Regions from separate parts of the Homo sapiens genome. Here all the other regions are linked to region 1. Evidence: promoter capture Hi-C in 16 types of primary human blood cells and fetal thymus (Javierre and others, 2016). All regions are on one chromosome and are shown on one strand. The core of a region is centred on a gene start or on the middle of the fragment in contact, and the rest is flanking DNA. Distances in the headings are between cores, read along the strand shown. Region 1 holds the start of SNRNP48 (small nuclear ribonucleoprotein U11/U12 subunit 48). Region 2 overlaps LY86 (lymphocyte antigen 86). Region 3 has its middle 54 kb from the start of LY86-AS1. Region 4 overlaps LOC101928004 (a long non-coding RNA gene). Region 5 overlaps LOC101928004 (a long non-coding RNA gene). Region 6 overlaps LY86 (lymphocyte antigen 86). Region 7 overlaps LY86 (lymphocyte antigen 86).

Evidence for each region. Contacts are between HindIII fragments. The CHiCAGO score rates a contact against its expected background, and 5 or more counts as called.
Region 2: a contact is called between a fragment that was not itself captured here and the fragment with the promoter of SNRNP48 in region 1, in 1 of 17 cell types (total B cells). The highest score is 5.3, in total B cells.
Region 3: a fragment that was not itself captured here is called in contact with the fragment with the promoter of SNRNP48 in region 1 in 7 of 17 cell types (fetal thymus, naive CD8 T cells, total B cells and 4 more); the score reaches 8.3 in fetal thymus.
Region 4: a contact is called between a fragment that was not itself captured here and the fragment with the promoter of SNRNP48 in region 1, in 2 of 17 cell types (fetal thymus and total B cells). The highest score is 9.5, in fetal thymus.
Region 5: a contact is called between a fragment that was not itself captured here and the fragment with the promoter of SNRNP48 in region 1, in 8 of 17 cell types (fetal thymus, total B cells, naive B cells and 5 more). The highest score is 9.3, in fetal thymus.
Region 6: a fragment that was not itself captured here is called in contact with the fragment with the promoter of SNRNP48 in region 1 in 5 of 17 cell types (naive B cells, non-activated CD4 T cells, total B cells and 2 more); the score reaches 7.4 in naive B cells.
Region 7: a contact is called between a fragment that was not itself captured here and the fragment with the promoter of SNRNP48 in region 1, in 1 of 17 cell types (naive B cells). The highest score is 5.5, in naive B cells.

What each region holds. Positions count from the first base shown.
Region 1 is chr6:7,588,668-7,592,104 of GRCh38, forward strand. SNRNP48 (small nuclear ribonucleoprotein U11/U12 subunit 48) reads left to right here and starts at 1,531. Exons shown (of 9, transcript NM_152551.4): 1 at 1,531-1,746. The coding sequence starts at 1,591. RefSeq lists enhancers at 1,288-2,027, 1,606-1,755. The HindIII fragment of the contact is 5,411 bases long and covers 299-3,437 here.
Region 2 is chr6:6,604,730-6,608,484 of GRCh38, forward strand. All of the region lies in intron 1 of LY86 (lymphocyte antigen 86), which reads left to right. All of the region lies in intron 1 of LY86-AS1 (LY86 antisense RNA 1), which reads right to left. Among named protein-coding and RNA genes, the nearest start is that of LY86-AS1, 16 kb to the right of the region's middle. The HindIII fragment of the contact is 6,589 bases long and covers 1-3,755 here.
Region 3 is chr6:6,675,214-6,678,620 of GRCh38, forward strand. No RefSeq gene overlaps it. Among named protein-coding and RNA genes, the nearest start is that of LY86-AS1, 54 kb to the left of the region's middle. The HindIII fragment of the contact is 3,069 bases long and covers 566-3,407 here.
Region 4 is chr6:6,704,187-6,707,631 of GRCh38, forward strand. The region is part of intron 4 of LOC101928004 (a long non-coding RNA gene); the gene reads right to left. Among named protein-coding and RNA genes, the nearest start is that of LY86-AS1, 83 kb to the left of the region's middle. The HindIII fragment of the contact is 2,232 bases long and covers 969-3,200 here.
Region 5 is chr6:6,721,528-6,725,033 of GRCh38, forward strand. All of the region lies in intron 2 of LOC101928004 (a long non-coding RNA gene), which reads right to left. LOC101928047 (a long non-coding RNA gene) reads left to right here. Exons shown (of 6, transcript XR_001743949.2): 5 at 3,254-3,506. Among named protein-coding and RNA genes, the nearest start is that of LY86-AS1, 100 kb to the left of the region's middle. RefSeq lists enhancers at 3,256-3,506, 3,266-3,325. The HindIII fragment of the contact is 1,937 bases long and covers 615-2,551 here.
Region 6 is chr6:6,652,348-6,655,999 of GRCh38, forward strand. It overlaps LY86 (lymphocyte antigen 86), which reads left to right. Exons shown (of 5, transcript NM_004271.4): 5 at 2,197-2,635. The coding sequence ends at 2,280. Among named protein-coding and RNA genes, the nearest start is that of LY86-AS1, 31 kb to the left of the region's middle. RefSeq lists a silencer at 1,510-1,700. The HindIII fragment of the contact is 4,773 bases long and covers 1-3,652 here.
Region 7 is chr6:6,629,141-6,632,810 of GRCh38, forward strand. All of the region lies in intron 3 of LY86 (lymphocyte antigen 86), which reads left to right. Among named protein-coding and RNA genes, the nearest start is that of LY86-AS1, 8.2 kb to the left of the region's middle. The HindIII fragment of the contact is 532 bases long and covers 1,722-2,253 here.

The sequences.
Region 1 (3,437 bases), core at 281-2,780:
TCTCTTACCAGCTTCTAGCCACTTCTGTATTTTATGGTGCTGCCTATTTATAGTCTTATGACTATTTTTTTAAGTGAGAACCGTGCTATTTGCCTTTAGAAATAATTGTTCACCAAAAAATTCCCCCACAGTTCCTTCACATGGGTAAACAAAGTGCAAAAGGAAACCAAGGTTTGACACTTGGGCTTGAAAAAATTTTAAAAAGTAATATAAAATGGGTTAGATTCTAGGAGTTGAAACCATTTGGGGAAACTACAAGGGCTAATTCCAGGTGTTGGGTAGGAAATGTACAAAGTTAAGCTTGTGTTATCAAAGCAAGAAAGCATTCAAGGACTAATAGGGATACATGAAAGACACAGATGGCTTAATGTGGCTTCCACTGGCCACATTTGGGACAATTTGAGCATCAACAAGAATTATGATGTTAAAGGAGTATATTATATTGAATTAAAAAAAAACCTTAAATCAATAACTTTAAAAACACCTTGATTCCCATAGTGAAGCAAACACTAAAATGGAGGTGTGGAAAGAATGCCAGTTAATAAACATAAAAGGCATGATACTATTGCGGAATCACTTATAACTCCTAATGTAACAACAGATTCAGTGAAGGACTGTATCAAGGAGTTGGGGAACAGGTTATTCTTATGGACTCAAGGTATAATCCACAGATTGCTTACCAATTCCTAAGAGGAAAATGTACTATTAGAATGAAGAGATGTAGCCACCACCTTTACCAAGTGATCAAATTTAGCATTACTAATATAACTGAGTTATGCGTCCCCGTGAGTTGGCAACATCTCTTAGGTAGTATTGCAAAAGTGCTCAAACTGAATCTAATCATGAGGGAAACAAAATCTGACAAATCCAGAATGAGAGAGATTCTACAAGACAACTGGCCTAGGCTCATCACAACATGTAATGATTTAATAATTTAAAAAGGAGGGTGAAGGAGGCTGATCTGGATTAAAAGAGACAATAACTAATTATAGCTTATGAGTTGAAAAAATAAAACTGCTATAGAAATAATTTTGGGGACAATGGGGAAATTTGAATATGAACTGTATAATAAATGATTTTATGGACTTACTAATTTTCTTAGGTTTGATCATGTATTGCGGTTACACAGGAAAATGTTCTTATTCTTAGAACATGCATGCTAACATATTTGGGGGTGAAAAATCTGCAACTTACTTTCAAAGAATTCAGCAAAAATCATTGGGTGGGGCTGTGAATGTGGAGAGAAGAGACGGAGAGAAATCAAACCTGGCAAAATGTTAACAATGAGCTGAAGGACGGCTAAACGAAAGCTCATTGTACTATTTTTAAAACTTTTCTGTAGCTATAAGCCGTTTTTTCTGAGGAAGTCGAGGAGGGCGAATATCTTTCTGGAAAGGCCAGAGCAAATGCACGCAAGAGCTGAGAAAAGATTGGAAAACGCCTCTCAAAATAACAGTCCCGCCCTTCCCGGGACTCTTCCCTATAGGCTGTTCAAGTCACGTGGCGACTGTGGCCCCGCCCACAGCTCCCAGAGGCCTGCGCGTGCGGTCTGCAGTTCGGCCGCTTCCTCTTGGCGGGTGGGCTGCAGCTATGGAGGGCGAGCCTCCACCTGTGGAGGAGCGGCGGCGGCTGCAGGAGGAGCTGAACGAGTTCGTGGAGAGCGGCTGCCGGACGTTGGAGGAGGTGACCGCGTCCCTGGGCTGGGACCTAGATAGTCTGGATCCCGGGGAAGAGGAGGCGGCGGAGGTGAGGAGCGCGGCCGCGGGGCCCTTTCGGGGACTATCGGCCCGGGGTCTTCTCTGGAAGAAGGGAGATCCGCACTGGCAGCCGCGGAGGGAAGGGCGAGGAGTCCTCGTCCGTGTGCAGAGCCGCGATGGGCGCCTGGGACCCGAGGGGCGCCGGGGGCCCTGGAGCAACCCTGACGTCCCTGGGTTCCGGGCTGGGGCGCGCGAGGAACTCCCGAAGGCTCCACATCGACCTCCAGTGCGGCGCTCCTCCCGCGCAACTTCGAGTTTAAAGAAAACCGGGGGCCGGGCGCGGTGGCGCACGCCTGTAATCCTAGCACTTTGAGAGGCCAAGGCGGGAGGATCCCTTGAGCCCAGGAGTTCCAGACTAGCCTGGGCAACATGGTGAAACCTCTTCTCTACCAAAAGTACAAAAATTAGCCGGGTGTGGTGGTGTGAGCCTGTGGCCCCAGCTATTTGGGAGGCTGGGGTGGAAGGATAGCTTGAGCCCAGGAGGTCGAGGCTGCAGTGAGCCGAGATCGCTCCACTGCATTCCAGCCTGGGCGACAGAGCAAGACCCTGTCTCAAAAAACAAACAAACAAAATCCAGGAAGGTGTGTTGAGTGAGGAGGGAATGGCAGATTTGGTATTTATTTAGAAAATAAGTGAACGTGTCTCAGAGCGCTGCAGAGGGATTGGCGGTTTGCATTGTCATCTGTCATACGGATTCCGCAGTTGCACCAGATTCGGTGTCAGGAGAGCTGGGAGTTTGCCAGTTCGCCTTTCTGTGCCTTAAAATTGGACACTTCTGACTGGGACAGCACCAATTCTAGGATTATTAAAGGTTGTCACCAAGAGGTGGTAACTGGCAACTCCTGTGGACATTAGAATTGCTTTTTTAAAAATGTAGGCAAGTGTATTTAGAGTGAACATTCGTGATTTTTGTTTTTTTGTGGGGTATTTTCGGTGGAATGAGAGGAAGGGAAGTGCTCCAATGTGGGGTAATTCATTATCTTTACTATTACTTCTGGGTTTACCATGCTGTGATAATTTCTCCTGGGTTTAAGTTACATGACTGATTCCTCAGAGGCATTTAAAATATATTTGATTTCTGTATATACCATTCATTGTTTATTGTATTAAAAGCACAGAGGAAATTAAAAAATCTTTAATATTCATTTAGAGGGGTATTTGAAGCTGGGAATTCCACTGAGTGGGGCTTACCAGACCCTTCCATACATTGTTTACTCAGCATTGCGGTAACATTGGATTCCTTGTATTAACGTTTAAATAGCACTTTGTTTGCCACTTACATTACTTCATTTAATACTCAAAATAACCCTATGAGGTAGGTATCTTTGGCCACATTTTATAGACGAGGAAAGGAACACAGAAGTGATAATTTGTCGAAGGATACACTGCTAGTAAATGGCAGTTAGGATTTCCGCCGGTGTTTTAGTACTGAAATTTAGTGAACAACAGTCCTAGTTGTCATCTGTTCCTAGTTGTCACCTAGTTCCTAGTCCTCACAGAGCTAGTCCTAGTTGTCACCTAGTTCCTAGTCCTAGTTGTCACCTAGTTCCTAGTCCTCACAGAGCTTATTGTCTGGTGGTGATGAGGGGTAATACGGATAACTGAACCATTATATTATCATGGGTCTGTGATGGGTGGGGTTGGAATTGCTATAGTACAGTTTATTGTAGGCGGTGGTGG
Region 2 (3,755 bases), core at 144-2,643, 980 kb before region 1:
CCACCAGGCTACCCACAACATAGCAACGTGCTTCCCACAGTTTCCCAGAGATTCGTAAAAGAAATTTCACAATTAGACCAACCAGGATAAAACCACAAACCACCAAAGGAAAAAAAAAAATGGTAAAAGTTGCAAGAGAAATTACCTAAAAGAAGTTATAGACTGACAGCTGGCTCCAGCAATACTCTCATAGAAAAGAGAAAATAACAATCAACGTAGAACCTAGAATTCTATATACAGTATAGCTACAATTCTACATACAGTATAGTTAAGTCATTCAATAGTAAGTAAAAGACTTTGGAGAAAAAAAAATCTAGAGTGTTTGCCACCGAGACTCTCACTAAAAGAACTTTAAAGGGTACTTGAAATGACCCCAGAAGTCAGTTTTGAGATATAAAATGGAATGACAAGCAAAGTAGCAACTTTATCAATGAATGTAATGATGATAATGATGAATTTGGAACAAGAATGTGTTAGATTTCTATTTCTGCATAACAAATACCCTAAAATTTGGCAGTTAAAAACAATAAGCATTATCACCTCACCTCACAGTTTTTTTCCTCTGGGGCAGGAATTTGGGTGTGGTTTAGTTGGGGGTCTCTGGGAAAAGGTGATGAAGTAGTCAATTCTAGGCTTGGCTGGGGGAGCAGCTGCTTCCAAACTCATGTGAGTACATCGCAATGAACAGACCTCCAAAGATCCGCTTTCATGCCCACTCACAGGGCTGTTACTGGAGTTCAAGTCTTCAATAGCTATTAGCCAGAGATCAGTGCCTTGCCATGGGGGGTCTCCCCACAACGCTACCCCATAACATGGCAACGTGCTTCCCACGGAGTGGGAGAAAGCGCATGACAGCTGTCATAGTCTCATGACATTGCAGCCTCATCTCAGAAGCAACATTCCAATGTTTTCGCTATGTTCTACTGTGTCTGGAATTGATGGGTTCTTCATCTCACGGACTTAAAGAATGAAGCCGCGGAACCTCGCGGTGAGTGTTACAGTTCTTAAAAGGCAGTGTGTCCAGAACTTATTCTTTCTGATGCTGGGATGTGTTCAGTTTCTTCCTTTTGGTGGGGTTCGTGGTCTCGCTGGCTGACTTTCCCGGTGAATGTTACAGCTCTTAAGGGGGCATCTGGAGCTCTTCGTTTCTCGCGGTGGGTTCTTAGTCTCGCTGGCTTCAGGAATGAAGCTGCAGACCTTCACAGTATGGGTTATAACTCATAAAAGAAGCGTGGACCCAAAGAGCGACCACCAGCAAAATTTACTGCGAAAAGCAAAAGAACAAAACTTCCACAGCACGTAATACTACTCAAGCAGGTTACTGCTGCTAGCGCGGGCAGCCTGCTTTTATTCTCATCTGGCCCCACCCACATCCTGCTGATTGGTCCATTTTACAGAGAAGGCCGAGTGGTCCATTTTGACAGGGCACTGATTGGTGCGTTTACAATCCCTGAGCTAGACACAAAGGCTCTCCACCTCCCCACTAGATTAGCTAGATACAGAGTGTGGACGCAAAGGTTCTCCAAGGCCCCACCAGAGTAGCTAAACACAGAGTGTCGATTGGTGCATTCACAAACCCTGAGCTAGACACAGGGTGCTGATTGGTGTATTTACAATCCCTTAGGTAGACATAAAGGTTCTCCAAGTCCCCCCCAGACTCAGGATCCCAGCTGGCTTCACCCACTGGATCCTGCACCTGGGCGGCAGGTGGAGCTGCCTGCCAGTCCCACACCGCGCACCCGCACTCCTCAGCCCTTGGGTGGTCGATGGGACCGGGGCGCCGTGTAGCAGGGGGCGGCGCTCGTCGGGGAGGCTTGGGCGGCACAGGAGCCCACGGAGCGGGGGGAGGCTCAGGCATGGCGGGCTGCAGGTCCCTAGCCCTGCCACGCGGGGAGGAAGCTAAGGCCCGGCGAGAAATTGAGCACAGCAGCTACTGGCCCAGGTGCTAAGCCCCTCACTACCCGGGGCTTGCGGGCGGACCTGCAGCACTTGCGGGGCCCGCTGAGCCCACGCCCACCCGGAACTCGCGCTGGCCCGCAAGCGCCGCGCGCAGCCCGGGTTCCCGCTTACGCCTCTCCCTCCACACCACCCCGCAAGCTGAGGGAGCGGGCTCCGGCCTTGGCCAGCCCAGAAAGGGGCTCCCACAGTGCAACGGCAGGCTGAAGGGCACCTCAAGCGTGGACAGAGTGGGCACCGAGGCCGAGGAGGCGCTGAGAGCGAGTGAGGGCTGTGAGGGCTGCCAGCATGCTGTCACCTCTCACTACCGCTTAGAAGCAAGTCACTGGGCTACTCCAGAGGAGGGGATTGCACGGGACGTGAACACTAGGAGGGGGTCCCTGGGGCCATGTTGGAGGCTGCCTAGTGCAAAACGGCAGATAACAATAGCACACAGAGGAGGGGCTGGTGAGTGAACATTAAAGCATTCTCATGTCCTTGACCTGGTCTTTTTCAGGGAGGAGAGTAAAGACAATGTTTATTTATGCAAGACGAAAAAGTTCTAGAAATCTGTGGCCCAACAATGTGAATATACTGAAGACTTCCAAACTGTACTCTTGAAAATGGTTAAGATGGGAAATTCACTGTCATGTGTTTTTTGCCACAATAAAAACAAATATATACATACTTATATACCAAGGTTTTAAAAATAGGAAAAAGAGAAGTTTATTTTTAAGATTTATTAAGATATTCGTGTTAAATTTTCAAAGGTAAGTACTACCTGACTAGAAATAAAGTATATGATTTCCAAACTATAAACAAAACAATAAAAACAAAAGAAAAAATTAAAATATTCCAATTAAATCCAAAAGAATGCTGGAAAGAAGGGAGGAAAGGCATAAAGAAAGAAAACCCAAAATAGGATAAAATAATTATTAAAATATCAGAGGCTTGGCTGGGCACGGTGGCTCATGCCTGTAATCCCAGCACTTTGGGAGGCTGAGGCAGGTAGATCACCTGAGGTCAGTTGTTCAAGATCAGCCTGGCCAACATGGCGAAACCCCGTCTCTACAAAAAATACAAAAATTAGCTGGGCGTAGTGGCGGGTGCCTGTAATCCCAGCTACTCGGGAGGTTGAGGCAGGAGAATCGCTTGAACCCGGGAGGCAAAGGTTGCGGTAAGCTGAGATAGTGCCACTGCACTCCAGCTGACAGAATAAGACTCCATCTCAAAAAATAAAAATAAAAATAAAAAAATAAATCAGAAGCCCTAATAGATATAAATGGACTATATTAACCTGATCTTACAAAACAAAAAAATGACAAATTGCATTTTAAAAGTTAGCTGTCTGCTCTTTAAAGAAATACACCTAAAATATAGATCTACAGTGAACAATACATTTAATGGTGAAACATTGGAAACGTTCCCTTTAAAATCAAGAGTGAGACAAATTTGCCCGTCACTGCCACTTGTATTCAGCATTGTACTGAAGGACCTCACCAGTGTAGTAAGACAAGAAAAAGAAAATGTTAAAGGATTTGAAAGGAGCAAACAAAAATACTATTATGTGCATATAATATGACTTTGTCTACGCAGAAAAACCTAATCTACAAATTACTGGAACTAATGAAAGTTGAATTAGCAATTTATTTGGGGACTAATTTATTACATTATTTCAAGAGATAGCTAGCATGCATCGCGTTACTTAATTCATTTTCATGGAGGTAGAGTACATCATTATACGTATCGACTACAATTGTGTCCCTCCTCCTTTTGATAAAAATTTAGGTTGTTTCCACTTTTTTGCAATTACAAACTGT
Region 3 (3,407 bases), core at 850-3,349, 910 kb before region 1:
TATCATCTCCCAGTAATAGTCCTAGGTAATTAAACTTTTATTTTTCCCATGATTTATCGTCTGGGAAATACTAACTCTGTTAAACTTCGGACTTTACATATAAAATGTAAAATTTTTTTCAGTTTGGATAAAGTTCTGTTATAAGTAACTGAAAATCAAGCAGAGACATACACAAGTTAGAGGTTTATTTCTCTCTCCAGTAAACCTGGGAAGTTCATGGTGGCCCAGTTCACTAGGACTTGGACTTCTTTTATTTTGTAACTCCATCATCCTCACCTGTGGCTTCTGCCTTTTAGTCCAAAATGGCTGTTTCAGATCTAGTGATATCATCACATTCCAGCCAGCAAGAAAGAAAAGAAGGCAAGAAAGTGATAGCCCTCTTCTTTTAAGGACCCTTCTGGAAGTTGTATATACAACTTGTACATATTGGCCAGTAGGCCACCTGAGAAGACTGAGGGCCTCAGTTCTTTCCTAGCTGTTGGCTGGAGGTTGCACACAGTTTCTCATTACATGGCTTTTTCAATATGGCAGATTGCTTTATGAAAACAATATTCAGCAAGACCCAAGCTTCAAGGGGGGATGAGAAATGTAATATTTGCTCTCAGTTTCTGTGGTAGCCATGAAATTATGCCTCTCAGATGTCCGACTAAGGAAACGTAATTGTCTGAAGGCCCCAGCTGCTGTCCTCTGGAAAGGCTGAGGGAGGAGGGTTGCTTGACTTAGGAAGTCAAGGCTGCAGTGAGTTATGATCGCGCCACTGCACTCCATCCAACCTGCTTGACAGAGCAAGACCCCATCTCTAAATAAATTTTTAAAAATACAATCCGCCAGGCACAGTGGCTCACTCCTGTAATCCCAGCACTTTGGGAGGCCGAGGCAGGCGGATCATGAGGTCAGGAGATAGAGACCATCCTGACCAACATGGTGAAACCCTGTCTCTAGTAAAAATACAAAAATTAGCTGGGTATGGTGGCACACGCTTGTAGTCCCAGCTATTCGGGAGGCAGAGGCAGGAGAATCACTTGAACCCGGGAGGAAAATATTGCAAGGAGCAGAGATCGCGCCACTGCACTCCAGCCTGGCGACAGGGCAAGACTCTGTCTCAAAAACAAACAAACGAAAAACCAATCTACTCCAAAAATACTATTTAAATAACAGAAAAAGCCTGTTTCTATTTCTGTCAATGTATGTGTATTGCATGTATGTTACAAATAATCCTTTTCCTAACTTAGAACTTATATTTCTACAGGGTGAGGGCTTATGTATAAAACCAATATAAAATAATGAAGAGGAGAGATACCAAATCTTACATCTTTTCCTTGTACAACCTGAAGACATGCCTCAGACCCAATAATTTTTTATATTGCAATTTTCATTTTAATTCCTTAATTTTGTACTAATTTTCCAAAATGTTTGGTAGATTTCCCTCAATATGCTAAGAGGTCAGCTTAAGAGAATGGGCAGGGGGTCTTGGAAACTCAGATAAGGGCCTTGACACTTATTTTGGGCAAAGCTAACACTGAGTCACAGGGTTGTTCCAATGAATTATTTTCCCTGTTGCCTCAGATGAGAAAAATTCACTCTGATTTTATTTCTTATTCTTGTGTCTGCTTTATCATCACAGTTAATATAAAATATGCCAATAAATACTCTATCTAAACAATAAGTCTTCTCATTTCCTTTTTGCGCCACACAGAACTTGCAGAAAATGGGGAAAACGGGGCTACCTTTTCTTAAACCAGTTTGCCCAGGAAGCCCATGCTGTGTAGTTCACAATTTCAGCCAGGAGGTGGCGGTAGTAACCAATGGCAAAATCCTGAGACACTGCCTCTATCAGCTTCTCATTGTCCTGCGGACGCTTCCTGGATCTAATCTGATGCTTATGAAAGTGATTTCCTTCTTTCGAAAACACCAGGCCCAAACAAAAACTAACTTCATCCTGCAGATAAAAACTGTATGTGCCTTACAAGTTGTCAGACTCCTCCAGACCTTCAATCAATATTTTCCCAGCAGCAAAATGCAGCTGCACATTTTAGGAAGCAGAGTGGGCAAATTCCTTCTGCGGAAGCCCATGAACCATCAGGCCTCCCCCTCAGGGTGGCAGGAAGGTGTGGAAAGGGGGACTAAGCAATCCAAGCTGCTAGACAATCCGAGCTCCAGGGAGGCCAAGCACATTCCCCCAGTTTGTGCAGGAAACAGCAGGGAACTGAAAAAAGGGTTCTGTTGAGATGAGACTGATGTTCCCAAGTCCTGAGTCCTCAAACCGAATCACTTTCCGGCAGCAACACCTGTCTTTAGCATGCAAACATCGGTCTCATAGAGTCTTCCCTGAAAGATGTTTAATGATCATGTCATTACTGTCACTCTTTTTTTTTTTTTTGAGAGTGAGTTTTGCTCTTGTTGCCCAGACTGGAGTGCAATGGAGCGATATCAGCTCACCCCAACTTCTGCCTCCCAGGTTCAAGCGATTCTCCTGCCTCAGCCTCCCGGGTAGCTGGGGTTACAGGCATGTGCCACCACGCCTGGCTAATTTTGTATTTTTAGTAGAGACGGGGTTTCTCCATGTTGGTCAGGCTGGTCTCAAACTCCCAACTTCAGGTGATCTGCCTGCCTCGGCCTCCCAAAGTGCTGGGATTACAGGCGTGAGCCACTGCGCCCAGCCACTGCCACCTTTTAAACTACAGAAGATGAGTGTGCCTGCTCAGACAATGAAGGACTCTGAGGGATTTGGAGAGCCACAAGGAGTCCAGACCTTAACCTGAGGGCAACAGCACCATTAAAAGTTTCTAAGACAAGGAGGAACACGGCTCCACCAATTTACAATGGCTAAGAAGAAAATAAGCTCGTCGGAAGGCAGGAAGTTGAGTCAATTTTCTATCCATGAATCTCAGCATTAGGTTGTTTTTATTGAACTTCTGATAGTACATCTTGAAGAATGCTAAGGAAAAGTCTAGAAAGGTGCTCTTAGTCTCCTTTCTCTACTGCAGAAGCCCTTTGTGATCTCCAGGGGAAGCAGCCCCCGTTTCCATATGGTCCCAGGGAGACGAACGACGGCAGAACATTTCATGTGCTGTGGAGGCACCTAGCTTCAGAATGTGAAAAAGTAACCAGAGCTCTCAAACCTCCCTTTCCTCATGTGTTAAATAGGGATAATAGTCCTTACGTCAGGGTTGTTGGGAGAGTGAAATGAGATCACATATGTGAGTCACTGACCTACAGTAAGTGTTTGGTAAACAGTAGTTATCATGGGCGGAGGCCTGACCTGGGAAACGGTCGGCAGGCACAGTAAACTCACCAGCAGATGCTAAAGGGAGCCCCGAGGCTCATCATACCCACCACATGTACACGCATACACACATACACACACACGCACTCATGCACACACACAAGCAGGCACAGAGCATCCC
Region 4 (3,445 bases), core at 835-3,334, 880 kb before region 1:
TAATCTCAGCTACTCGGGAGGCTGAGGCAGGAAAATCGCTTGAATCTAGAAGGCAAAGGTTGTAGTGAGCCGAGATCACGCCACTGCACTTTAGTCTGTGACAGAGTAAGTAAGACTCTGTCTCCCAAAAAAAAAAAAAAAAAAAAAAAAGACTTGTAAGTACTTCAGAATGTTTATAATGATGTTGTCAAATTGTCAAAATTGGCATATTCCAGCTACTTAAGTTTGTTACTCCTAGATATTCCTCAACTGTAACATCAGTACCTATCTTAGGCCATCGGCAGGGAGTGAGCTGACTGCTCCCCAGGGTCTCAGGTAAGGAACAGATAATGGTTTTCAGTTTGTAAGCTCAGCATGAGCACTATCTCCCAGAGGCCTCTGGGCATAAATGAGCACTTATCAAATCCACGAGAGGCAAACAGCCATCTGCAGGCTGGCAGAACTGTCTGCAAGGATTTGCTTGACACAGATCTCTGGCTGGGCTCATGGTATCAGAGGTCCCCAGGTTTATTGTTTTTAACGATCATTTTTTTCACCACCTAAACAGAAAGACCCTGTAGTTGAAAGCAAGAGGAAGCAACAGAGAGAGGCAGTGAGAATCAAATGGCTCAGTTAAGCCTCGGTGTGGCTGGGCTAACGCTTTTTCAGGTCACTCTTACAAGGTAATCCATTCGCCTGAAGAGGCATGCAGCATCTTGAAGGAAGGGAACCGTTGTGGCTAGGTGATTGGGTGGAATGGCATTCCCTCTGGAATCTGATTGCAGAGCCTGATTTCCAGCTTGGTCCCCTGGTCTTCTTTAGCTTTTGACTTCCAAAGTCTTATTAGAACTAGCTAGGTGGCCCCTAGATTTATGTATCCACTTTTGTCAAAAGCAGGCTACGGAGATGGAGCCTAGTAAGGAAAATAAAGGTAAAGTATTATGGCATTCACTCATTAGGGACAAGATGTCCTCTGGTGTACGTCACAAAGCTTTCACCTGCAAGTGACACTCAGCTCAAACCACCTTTAAAAACAAGGATATTCTAATCTCAGATAAGAAGTCCAAGCAAGTTCCAAGGAGATTAAAACCAGTGGTTCAGTGTTGTTGTCAGGAACATAAATTCCTTCAAGCTCTGGGCTCTACCATCCTCAGAACATTGGTTTTGGCCTTAGGCAGCTCATCCCATGTTTCAAGATCCCTCAGCCCTCCTGGTTTCATAACCACATCGGCAGAGACCACTTCATGGTGACCAACCTGTCATGCTGCACAAGGCCTTGTGCTTAGAAGGACCCACACTTGGCTTAGTGCTCTACCATCACCGTCTTAACATCCTTAGTCTTATCTGTGAACTTGTGTTTTACGAGTGAAATCCTATGGGGACAGTGGAGATGCATGTGAGCAGAGGAGATGTACGCAGTATATATGTCCTCCTTTCCTGCTGTCCTATGTGCAGGTCATGTTGGGGATCCCCATAAGCACAGAATTCCAGGGACCCACGAAGCATGGGAGTCAGTGAGACAGACTCAAAGCCAGCACATTAAGCCCACAACCAAGTAAGTGGCAGCACTGACAGCCCTAAGAGGCCATGCTTTTTGTCCAAATCAGAACTTGCTCTGAACACAAAGAAAATAGAGCTCTAAGAAAACACAGAAGATCAAGCAACCCTACTCTATTCTTTTGAACACGTGTTACTTCCTCGTATTAGACAACTACTTCCACTGAAAATGATGACATAGGTTGGGTATGGTGGCTCATGCTTATAATCCCAGCACTTTGGGAGGCTAAGGTGGGCAGATCACCTAACGTCAGGAGTTCGAGACCAGCCTGGCCAACGCGGTGAAACCCCGTCTCTCCCAAAAAATACAAAAGTTAGCCGGGCGTGGTGGTGCACGCCTGTAATCCCAGCTACTCAGGAGCTGAGGCAGGAGAATCACTTGAACTCAGGAGGCGGAGGTCACAGTGAGCCAAGATTGCGCCACTGCACTCCAGTCTGGACAAGAGCAAAACTCCATAACAAAAAAAAAAAAAAAAAAAAAAAAAAGAAAATGACATAGAAGGAAAGACATAAGTGGTTGGCTAATACACCTTAGTGAACTATTTCAGAAGAAAATTCAGCACAATTCCAGCCTATAACTCCAAAAGCCTCAATTTCTTGCCTTGTTCCTGTCCCTTGATTTTTGTCCCCTCTTCTTTCATCGACAGAGCAGAAGGTCAACTGCCTCAGGTGTGTGCAGTCACTTACTGGCCCTGGAAATGTACATCCAGAACAGAATATTATCTTCCTGGCAGCCGTCCCATTCAGCCTGTGCATGGAGCTGTCCCAAGACCTGAGCCTTCTTAGTTTGGTGATGCTTCACTATGGCTTCAACTCTCCAACTTCTGCCCTCCAAGACCATAGTGATAAGAAAACAAAGATCAACTACCCCCGAGCTGGGAGGAGGACTCCTTTTTTCTCTGTACAGCCTTTTATATGTTTAACTTGCTTACCATGTAATATGGATAACCTATGAAAAAGATTTCACGTGTATACCTTTTTAAATCACTTACTCTACTTGTTTGTGAAGACAAAAATAAATTTAAAAAATGCCACAGACTTCTTGCAAGTTAAAGAAAAAAATTCAGCTTCCTGTGTAATAAGAAATATTGTAAGTCACACTCGTAGTCCGAGCTATTTGGGAAATTGTGGTGGGAGGAACACTTGAGCCCAGGAGTTCGAGACTGCAGTGAGCTATAATGGTGCCCACTGCACTCCCATCTGGGCAACAGAGCAAGGAATCATCTCTAAAAAATAATAAAAATAAAAATAATTTTAAAGATTAAAAAATATATTTAAAAGAAATATCACAAGTGAACTATAATTCATCCCAAAAGAGAATATGGATCTTTTCAAAGAGCAACATCAAAATGTCCAAGGCTAGTCATCATTTCTTTCTTGAGAACATTCATAAGCCACTGCTCACCCCTGGACTCCATTTTAAAAACAGATGCCACAGAGTTCTTCACTGCTTAGCCCATTCTCACATCACCAGTCCCCAAGCACGGACCTCACCCCTGGCCAGCCTTCCGGCATGCCAGGCCTCCTCCTCCCTCAAGCCCATGCGGAAGCAGGGAAGTGGGTCACACAGGGAGCCCATGCTATGGGTGGACGTACCCTGCCGACGAAAGTGGAAGGGCAGAGGTGGAGTGGTTTCTTCTTCCTTATTCCTTTATATTCTGTTAAGCTTTAGCAACTCTCTCAACTGACTCATGCATGGACTTGTTCTAGAAGAAACTGTTAGAGGCAGCAGAGGTCTGAAGGTGCTTTAGTTCCACCCCTAGATGAGAGTGACAGTCCCAGACACCCAGCAAGTTGGCATTAGAACCAGAGCTAGAACCCAGAGCTTGTCCCCAGCCAAGTTCTCTTTCATCTGCAATATCTGATTTCCCAGAATCATCCTTCATGGTGTGTTCTGGACCAATTTTTT
Region 5 (3,506 bases), core at 333-2,832, 870 kb before region 1:
AACTTCTGCTCATATTTTGTCCCATAATAGCTTCTGGAGCTCCCAAGTTTAAAAGCAACTTTTTATTGCCACTTTGGTTAATGGGCAAGAACCACCACCCCAAGAGTCTATTTTTGTTTTTAAGAAACTTTCTCCTAGGAGTCCCTCCCACAAGGCTGCTCAGCACAGTCCAGGCTCAGTCAAGCACTTCGAGTACAAAACAACTTGAGTGCGTGGAGATCTCACTGTGTGAGCTTTGTAGGGATTAGGTAAATCACAGGTGCACCCTTACCTGAACCAGCCAGCAGCTTATTCATTAATCAAGTGCTTAACAAGCTGTTGCTCCAAGTTCCCCTCTCAGCCTGGCAGACTGGTGTCTTTGGACTGATTCCCAGTTTGGGGCCCCCTCAGCTCCCCTTTTCCACTCTGCCAAAACTTCTCCCTGCAGGTCCTGTCCTATTCTCTTCTCTGCTATATTCCCCATGCAGAGTTGGCCTCTTGGGTTTCTCCTATGTTTCTCCAGCTTTCTGACTCCTGCCCAGAGGCTGCTCTTAAGACTCAGGTTGTGATCTGAACCAGTTTCTCCACAAGGAGTCCCAGGTCTGTCCTCTCTGAACCATTGTCTTTCTTTGCAAAGCTTTTCTACTTGGATCCTATATCCCCTTCCCGCACCTGCCCATGGTCCAAATGCGGCACAGAACTCACCAAAACCAGCTCTACATGTCATTCCCATCTGCTCAAGCCTTAATACTGACTTCTTCCAATAGAATAAGCCCTGCATCCAAACAATCTAATGCTCACATTTTCATTTTACCAGGGAGGAAACAGGCTTGGAGAAGTAACTTGCCTGTGAGCCTATAAAAGTGGCAAAGCTGGCCGGGTGTGGTGGCTCACGCTTGTAATCTCAGTACTTTGAGAGGCCAGGGTGGGAGGATTGCTTGAGCCCGGGAGTTGGAGACCAGTTTGGGCAACAAAATGAGACTTCACTACAAATAATTTTTTGAAAATTAGCTGGGTGTGGCAATGCACCTATGGTCCCAGCTACACGGGAGGCTGAGGTGGGAGAATCACTTCAGCTCAGGCAGTCCAGGCAATATTGAGCTGTGATCACGCCACTGCACTCCAGCCTGGGTGACAGAGCAACACCCGATCTCAAAAAAAAAAAAAAAAAAAAAAAAAAAAAAAGAGGTGGGGGGCAAAGCCACAATGCAAGGGTTACCTGAATTTGGTGGGCTGCCTATTGCACGGGGTAGGGTATATTCAGAGCCTCGTCTACTTTCTGCTGAGCTGAAGTCCTACTGTTGGGTACCATTTTCCCCAGGACCCCACGGCATTCAGATCTTGCCGGCTTCCTCCAGCCACTGCTAGAAGAACATTAGCAGCGAATCATGGAATGTCAGGGATTCAAAGTAGAGGCCCTCTGGTTACATCCTTTTGTTTTAAACATCACATATAAGCCCAGGGCCCTCTGTTTACTTTTGATTTTACCCAAATAGAACCAACTAGGGAGCAGATGTGTGCAGCTCAGCAGGAATCCAGCTTTGGGGAAATACTGAGGTCTCCAGACTTGGGACTGGCTTTGTGTGAAATGCTTGGTTAGGGGAAAGGGGCTCCCTGCTGAACAAGACTGGAAAAACATCTCCCAAAGGCACCTTGTGGCATCTGTAAGCTGTGGGTTGCAGGGGTGCTCATAAAACAAAACTCAAGATAGAAAATACACATATTTCAGACCCAGCTCTGTCCCCTTGAAGCCAGCACTAACAGCCAGCTTGACCCTTTTTCCTGACAATCCCTTACAATGTGGGAGCCAGGGTTCCCACAGGGCCTGAAGAGGACATGCCCGGGGCTCCTATAGCCTTAGAGAGCTGCTCACACGATCTGGGGCTGGATGAGCACCATCAGGCTTATGGAGAGAGACTAGGCCAAAAGTTCAGGCCAGTTCTGTTGAAAGAGAGAACACTTTAAAAAAAAAAATTGTGTTTCTTCAGAATTTGCTCAGGATTATCAGAAAAGAGAGAAGGAAAAAAAAAAACTTTCATCCTCTACAGTTGAGCAGGGAAGGGATGGGGAAAGACTCATTTCCTAATGACAGCCTTTTGTAACTGAAGATCTAAATAAGGTAAAAAATAAAAATGCTTCTCCATTTCTACAAGAAGTGGCCAGCCAGGAAAGGGACTTCTTGTCTAACCCTCCTGTGAAAATGAGGCTCATTCAGTCAGATTTCAACCCAGCCTTCTCCACTTTCTGCCTCCATCACCCTTCCGGGGGCAGAATTTAGCAGTGGTCTGCCACCCCGAGCAGCCGCTCCCACAGGAACTGCCTCATTAAGCTCTGTGACCAGTAACTCCCAACTTAGGAAAAGCTCAAGAAGGACCACTCTGCTTTGTTTGCACTTTTCCAAGAACCCTTACTACATAAAACGTTCTAAACTTGGGAACACTAACTTTTGCACTGTTTCCCACCGAGCCACAGAGCTCGCACCAGCATCACGCTCTCCCTTTGCCAGGATCTGAGCTCGCTGGAGGAAAATACAAGTTCCTCTTTCAGCTTCTTTCCTTCACTTCTGGAGACAAGCTTTCCAGCTACCAAAACAGAACGTTTCCCAGGTTTTCCTCCCACACCTATGAACTTTGTTCCTTGATTAAATCCTAGTTTCCCCTCTAAACAGAACTGGACTATGTCCAACCAATGTCTTCAGTTTCTGCAAACATTAACTCTGATGTTTTTTTTCAAGAGGTTTGTGTTCGGCTTTTGAGTAGGTTCCGGAGGCTGCCAGTGGAAAGTCTGAGGGGGGTATCAGCAGCATTTTACCCCATCCCCCGCATCCCCTCTGGCCAGCAGGACAGGAAAAGGAAGCCTGTTTGCGTGCACGAGCCTGCTGACCGGCCTTTGCCATGCGCTGTGCTTTCCTTTGTAGACACAGAGGGACTGCGAGGGAGGATGAGCAACTCCTTCCTAAGCTGGTAGGGTACATGGCTCCAAGAAACGCTCCTGGTCTGGAGTGGAATGTAGGACCGTTCTCCTCTCACAGCCAGCCACACAAAGCTACCTGTCTTCGGACATCTTTCCCCGACGCTTGAGCAGGCTGCAGGGAAAGGGGCCCGCTTACCCGGAGGAAGGAAACCCTCCGCAGACCCTCCAGGAAGGCAGGCCTGGGGCGCCCCTTCCCCGGGGAGCCTGGAAACCCACAAGGCAGGAGCCATTAGAGGGCAGCACGTGCCTGTCTCATAACACTGAGCAGACTCGTCTTTTTTTTTTCTTCTTCCAATTACAGGGTGTTTCAAAAAGCAAAAGTACCGTGGCTCCAGCGTCAGCAGAAAAACAAGTTAGAAAGACAGGCAGGGGAGGGGGCGATCCCTCCAACTCCAAAGCTGTGCCAGGGAGACACCGCTCTTGGGGAAGTTGGGCTGCAGCCCCCGCACGTGCTAGGAAGATAAGTGAAGGTCCCAACACATCCTGTCCCCTTAGAGCCCCTGGGGCCCAGCAGCCGGGCCCAGCAGCCCGACCCAGCGCCTAGAGCCCATTCG
Region 6 (3,652 bases), core at 898-3,397, 940 kb before region 1:
GGTTGTAAAAGACGTACCCCATATCCCCTCCTCCAGCTAAATCCTCCAGAGATGGGCTCTGGGCTAATGGCAGTTCCCATGTGGCCAAAAACGCTCCCACTCAGCGATCATTCTCCAGGGTCTTGGTATTATTTCCCTCTGAACTCATCCAACCCCTTGGCCCGGATTGAAGCCCTACCTGCTGTCCTCTGTCTATGCCTCCTGCTTTCTGAATGAAAATTTAGGGGATCCTTTGGGCTCCCGAAGCATGTGGACAACAACTTGTAGGCACAGCCTGACCCATGTATTGCCAAAGGTGCACCTACAAATTCCTAACTTACAAACTCTGTGCCCTCCTCAACAGCAGAAACGCTGCACTCAGTCCTTCCCTACCCTGGCCTCCTGGCCTCCCAGCACACACCTCCATCTGCCTCCAGCCTGGCACGCTTGCCTAAATATTCTTATCTCTTATACCAGAGTCTGTGATATCTGTAATTCATAATCTAGAACCCCTTCCTTCAAATACAACAGCTCCTCTTAGGTTCATAATGTAGTAATGAAAAATTCTTGTGTTGTTCAATACATTTGTAGGTGTGTGTCTAAATGCACATAGAGATTTTAAAGAAAAGTACATGAGGAGGAAGAGAACGATGAAACACAACGAGATATAAATTTGAGCCGGTCTTTACTCATAATTAATTCTCTAACATTTGGACTGCTTTGGTTATATTCCTAACACTATTTCTAAAATTACAGCTGCTCAATATTTGAGGAGTGTGACTCATGGGAGCGTCTAGAATCATGGAATCACACCCAAGGCACCATCCAGAGCACAGCCTGGTTCTCTTGAATACAATTTCAGTGTTGGGGACTCCACTCTCTTTGGAAGCTCTGCTCATTGCTAGAAAGTTGCTCCCTTCTAACAAAAGCCACCTTTCATGCAGCTTCTCTCCGGTGGTCTCACCTACTCCTTCCCTCTTGCTTTATACAGATTAAACTCTTTCCTCCTTTGGGTGACAGGCAGTTCAAAGATGTGCCAGCAGTCTCCTGGCCTCCTCTGCCACAGTCCCTCTGCTCCGCTTGCGACCCTCCAACCACCCCAGAGCATTTTCCTCTCCAGATTCGTGTCTACAAACACATCACCGCTCCGTGGCTGCTGGGGTGCAGGACTGGGGTGCTGGCAGCAAACAAAACCAGAATGGCTCTTCTACAGTCCTCATAGGACCTGGCTGCCAGGTGGCTTCTGCCAAGCTGACTGCAAAGGAAGGGAGACCTCCTTACAGTGTTGCTGCCAGCAAGGATCCCCAAAGGCAGCCATTCTTTCTGTGATGGTGCATTTTGGTTTTGTGCTGGTGAACTGTGCTCCCCGGGGTCTTCTCTGTCTGAGCATACAAACCTTTCTCCTTCCAGTTGCTCAGGCCAGGAGCCTTGGAGTCACCTTTAACCCATTTCTTTCTCTCCCACCCACTTGCGTTTCCTCAGCGGATCCTATTGGCTGTTCTTTCAAAATCTCTCTGGCACCCAAAGCCTTCCCCCACCTCCACCTCTACTCCAAGTCATCTTCATCTCTCACCTGGATTCCTGCAATCGCCTCCCATCTGGGCTTTTCAGTGAGGCAGCCAGAGGGATCTTACCGACACAGGCGCCAGGGCAGGCCACCCTCTCCTGACCAGAGTCCCTTTCAGAGTGGAAGCTGATGTCCCCACCATGGCCTTTGAGGCCCTAAGAGTCTGGCCTCCTGTGTTGCCCTTACCTCACCCCCCCCATCCCCCCACTCCCTGCAGCCCCACTGGCCTCCTTCTGCCCCTCTAAGGTGGGGGCCCCAGCCCATAGCAGCACTGCACCTTCTTGCATCTGCTTCAGGTCTTTGCCTAAATGTCGTCGTCTCAGCAGGGCCTCCTTTCACCACCCTGCTCAAAATTGCAGACCAGCACTTGCCTTGACCCATCCAGTGCTTCCATCCACTCCCTTCCTGCATGAGTTTTCTCCATGACATGAGCACCTGACACACCATACATAGTCACATATCATAAGGGTGGTCTGTCTCTCCCAGAGATGCTGTCAGCTCCACAGGGCAGGGGTTGGCTTGTCTTGTTCTACGTTATCCACAATGTCCAGAACAGCACCCAGCACATAAAAGTTTCTCTGTAAATATTTGTTAAATGGTTAATTGTACTGTGGGTCACACGTCTAATACTTGACCTGTGCCCCTTGCAGGGAGAATACCAGGTTTTGCTGGAACTGTACACTGAAAAACGGTCCACCGTGGCCTGTGCCAATGCTACTATCATGTGCTCCTGACTGTGGCCTGTAGCAAAAATCACAGCCAGCTGCATCTCGTGGGACCTCCAAGCTCCTCTGACTGAACCTACTGTGGGAGGAGAAGCAGCTGATGACAGAGAGAGGCTCTACAAAGAAGCGCCCCCAAAGAGTGCAGCTGCTAATTTTAGTCCCAGGACCAGACATCCCCAGACTCCACAGATGTAATGAAGTCCCCGAATGTATCTGTTTCTAAGGAGCCTCTTGGCAGTCCTTAAGCAGTCTTGAGGGTCCATCCTTTTTCTCTAATTGGTCGCCTCCCACCAGACTCACCTGCTTTTCAACTTTTTAGGAGTGCTTCCTCACAGTTACCAAGAATAAAGAAAGCTGGCCACCATTGTTCATTGTGGTTTGTTCAAAGAATCTTACTACAATGCTGTAGTTAAAAAGTCATTTCCTCCAGATACAGTGCCGGATGCTGGTGCAGCATAAGCAGTTCCAAGAAATTCAGGAGGGTGACAGCCTGGCTAAAATTAGAACACTGGGAAAATGTGCCATTGCTTCTCCTGGGCAGGCCCCCACCCTTGGACCATGAGGGCCGAGAAGCTGATGCAACCTCACGAATAGGGACATCATACTCTCGCTTATCCAAACATTCATTTCACCTTCATCCCTCAAAGCATGATTACACTTGACCTCAGCATATGCTGGCGTTCATTACTGCATTCATTAATGAATGCAAGGAATAACTCCTGAACACTTAATGTGTATCAGGTGCTGTGTTCTTAAGTTGTCTTCTACGATGCTCTCCGTAAATGAGCATGTTGCCCATGCTACTTCCAGAGCCATTTCTGCGGCCCCGTCTTCTCTCCTGGGATGCACTGATCGCATGGTGGGCTGCATAGCCCCTTCACCATCCGACGCCCCTGTCCTTCCAGTGTCCCTGCTGGCCCTCTTGCTCCTGCTAAGGGGCTGGAGTAAGGTGGGTGAGTTGACACTATCATTCATAAAAATGCCACTATATTAGAGATTAAAAGAGAAAAAAATTCCATAGTTTAAAAAACAGTAGTTGCTATTAATCACTGTTTATACATCAGTAAACCACCTAGAATAGCAGGTCAAAAATGCCTGTCAAACTTTAAAACCAGCATCTGAGGTTTTCTGGGTTATGAGCAGGCAAAATTGCAGCAGCGTCCTTGCCTAGGCCCATAATGCTCGAGGGAAAAGACGTGCGTGGTCATACTAGGCTCAGGAGCAAACCTCTGAACGTACATGGGGGTGACGGTGTTACGCACAAGAATAGCAAATGATTCCTGCCCCTGGCCATTCCCTCTAGCTTGAGACATTCACCTCTCTCCCTTTTCAGTAACCATCACCACAAGTAGTAAAGTCCCTGGCTAGACTCTGTGTACGC
Region 7 (3,670 bases), core at 738-3,237, 960 kb before region 1:
AGTGATGACTGCATAGGCAAGCTGAGAAGCTGGCATTGGGGAAATTGCCAGAAAACTTCATATAGTGTAAAATATCATATAGTGTAAAATGATCAGAAAAGTGATATACAAATGCTGCATGAACAAATAATTATGTAAACTATGTAAGTCAGAGAAACTAAAATCTTAAAGTCAGAGGCTTTTTGGATAATTAAATTGTTTTAACCCACCCACAAACCTACTGCAGGAATGATTCTATTCCAAAGAAATGGTTAATAGTAAGACCAGAAGGGGAAAAAAGAACACCAGGGAGAACTAAAGTCAATCCAAATCCAAGCACAAGCTGCTGTTGACATGTTACACATAAAAAGGCTTGCTCTGGGGCTTGCAGGTCCTTCTTAGCAGAGCGGTGAGAAAACTTAATGTCCACTGTGGGTGGCACATTGTGGTGTCACTGGCAGTTGAGCTGTTTGGTATCATTGCCATGGCATTACTATGCATTCCTCTGCAAACTGCATCTCGCTGGCTTTTCTCCAAGCCAAATAAAACACAAAATGGGTCAGGCTTAGTGAGACTGAAATGTTGCCTCCTTTCCCTCTGCCTTGTCCTCAGCTAGCTTTAAGGCAAGCATCACATTGGATTCAAAGACCAGCTGATGCTCTTTCAGTATGATTACTTATGCTGTGATTGACAATGTGGAGGAAATAGCGTATATGGCCAACGATAGGGCATTGACTAAGTAGGTCATTATTCAGCCAAACAAAGGTACAGTATGCTGTGATTTTAAAATGATGCCGTAGATTACTAAATTACATGAAAATATACTTGTAAGAATATTATGTGACAAAGAAGCATGCTATAAAAGTGTAGTCACTGTTGAATCCTATTGTATAAAATGTGTGTAAGTGTATACACAAAAAAACTCTGAAAGAGTACACACTTTAGTGCTAAGAGTACTTATCTCTGCAGATCTTTATTTTTGTCTTTTTTGGAAATCTCGCTTGCTTTTATGATAAATTTGCAAGGTTACTCTTTTAAGTGTTACTTTATCATTACAGGAAAGAATAGAGAGAATAAATTCTCTTCCCCTGGGAATAAATTTAAGAGTTTTCAAAGAGAATTACAGCCTATGTAATATCCAGCGATATTTGGACTCGAATAGAAAGTTCTGAATCAAAGAGTTGCGTAGAATATCAAGGGATGATCTAACAGCCATCCTCTTGCCTGGGATACCCACAGCCCCATTTACTCAGGCTGTGGGCTCACTGAGAAGGAGACAACATTGGCCACTGTTTTACTTTCTTCTCTGTTAAAGCTGCCTTGGTCCTTCTGTCTCCTCTGATAGTATCGAGTCATTCAGATGTATTTGCTTTAGTTGATTGCCATGCTTTCAAACAGGTTCCATAAGCTACACATCCACTTTTAAGACTAAATTGAGCTTCATTGAATGTCCTTAATGACCACAACTAATTCCTAGCCCAAAGGAGGGAAGCTGCAGCCAACTCCCTCAATCCTCAAGAACAACAATGCCGATAGAACCCCTGTGTGATCCGGGAGCTTTGGTCTGGTCTGCAAACACCAAGCGCGCCGTTACCCCAGTGGGTCTCCATCTTGGTCGCACATTAACTGCTCCTGTGCTTTCTGAAGCAATGACCACAAGCCACAGGTCGCGACTGAGCCCTGAAATGTAGCCAGTCTGAATAGAGATGTGCTGTAAGTGTAAAGTACAGACTCAGTTTCAAAGCTTTAGTCTTAGAAAAAGAATGTAAAATATCTCTATCATTGTTCCACTGGTTATGTGTTGAAATGTTAATATTTGGAATATACTGAGTTAAGTAGAATTTATCATTAATATATTATTTTAATCATTTATCAATGATAAGATATTAATATTATATTAAAATTAATTTCAACTTTTAAAATGTGGCTCCTAGAAAACATAAAATTATATGTGTGACTCTCTTTAATGTTTTTACTGGCAGCGCTGCATTATTATCTCCCTTTATAATTTTGAAGCTCCCAACATCCAGGCCATACCCCAGACCAATGATATCAGAATCTCTAGGAGTGAGAGCCAAGCCAGGTGGTGACCAGAAGTGCTCTGTGTTGAGAATATGGGAGGAAAAAACTGTTTTTTCCTACATACACCCTCATCTTATCAGATGAGGAAATTGAGTCTAACTTACCCAAGGTCACAAAGCCAGCGGGGGGTGGAACTGGGTTTCTGTCCAGCTCCAAACCCCTCTGCTGTATATCTTCTGTAAACATAAAGAAAGCTTTGCTAGAGAAGAAGTAAACTCATTTCAGCCCTCCACTAAGACCGGAAAAAGATTTAAAGGGCATAACAAAATTATAGAAATCAAAGGATCATCTTTGGGCATAACCAGCCATTATTATAAGGCAGTGGTTCTCAAAGTGTGGTCCTCAGACCAGCAACATCAGCATCATCTAGGAAATTATTAGAAATGGCAGATTCTTGGTCCCTACCCAGACGTACTGAATCAGAAGCTCTGGGGTTGGGGCTTAGTGATCTGTATTTTAACAAGCCTTTTGGGCCATGTGTTGGCAAACTTTCTTCTGGAAAGGGAAGGATAGTAAACATTTTAGGTTTTGCAGACCATATGGTCTCTGTGGCAATTGCTCAACCCTTCCCTTGCAGAGATAATATGAAAATGAGTGGACATGGCTGTGTGCCCAGATTACATGAAGTGAGGTATGTCTATATCTGCTGCATGTATTTTATAATTGATTTGGCTTTGTTTAATTTATGGACACTGAAATTTAAATTTCATTTAATTCTTACATGTGGTGAAGTATTATTCTTCTTTTGACTGATCAGTCCTGCTCTAAGTGGTTCTGTGGCATGTTAACTTTTGTGAACCACTGCTAGAAGGTAAGTCAGAATCCAGGGCTCTTAGCCAGAGTTACTGAGCACAGGTATGCGGGGGCTGTCACCAGGTGGACACTTGACCTGAGCTGCAGCATAAATTCAGATCCAGGACACCAAGGACAATGCCACACCTGTGCTTTGACTCTGCTTTATAAGACCTGTGCCAAAAAATTAGATTTGGGGCAAAAGGGACTTAACAGATAGGCTGGTCAGAGTGGCAGCTGGCAGGAGGAAGAGCACCTTAGGAAAAAGCCAGAGAGCAGGCCTGGAGGTCTCCTTCCCTCCCCACAGCTGCCATGGACAGTCTGGAGGGCCATTACATTTCTCTATTTCTCAATTACTGCATCTATCAAATGAGAGTGGCCATAATTCATTATTGGGTAAGAGTGGAGACTAAATAAGATATGTGATGTGTCTGACGCGTTAGAAATCACAGCACTGAGTCCCTGGGCTTCCTCCCCTACCCGAGGGACCTTGAGGCAGAGGGTTGGAGCATTTTGTGAAAACTGCAGGGCTGATTGATAAACTCTGGTGGGTCTGTCATAGAAACAGGCCAGAGGACTCAAACTGGTTCACCATAGAGCCAGAGGAGCAGCCAGTCCATAACATCTCACACTGCCAACCTGCTCAGGATCCCAGAATTTCCTGACCAGTAACTGAACAAGTCTTTCATGGCTATGTTGTTCTGTTCTGTTTTGTCTTCTTCCTTTGATCTAAGGTCAGCCTCTAAAATTTTTATTTTCTACCACTGGCTTGACTTCCATCCAGAATGCATAATCTTAGGAATGTCTACTCCCTTCA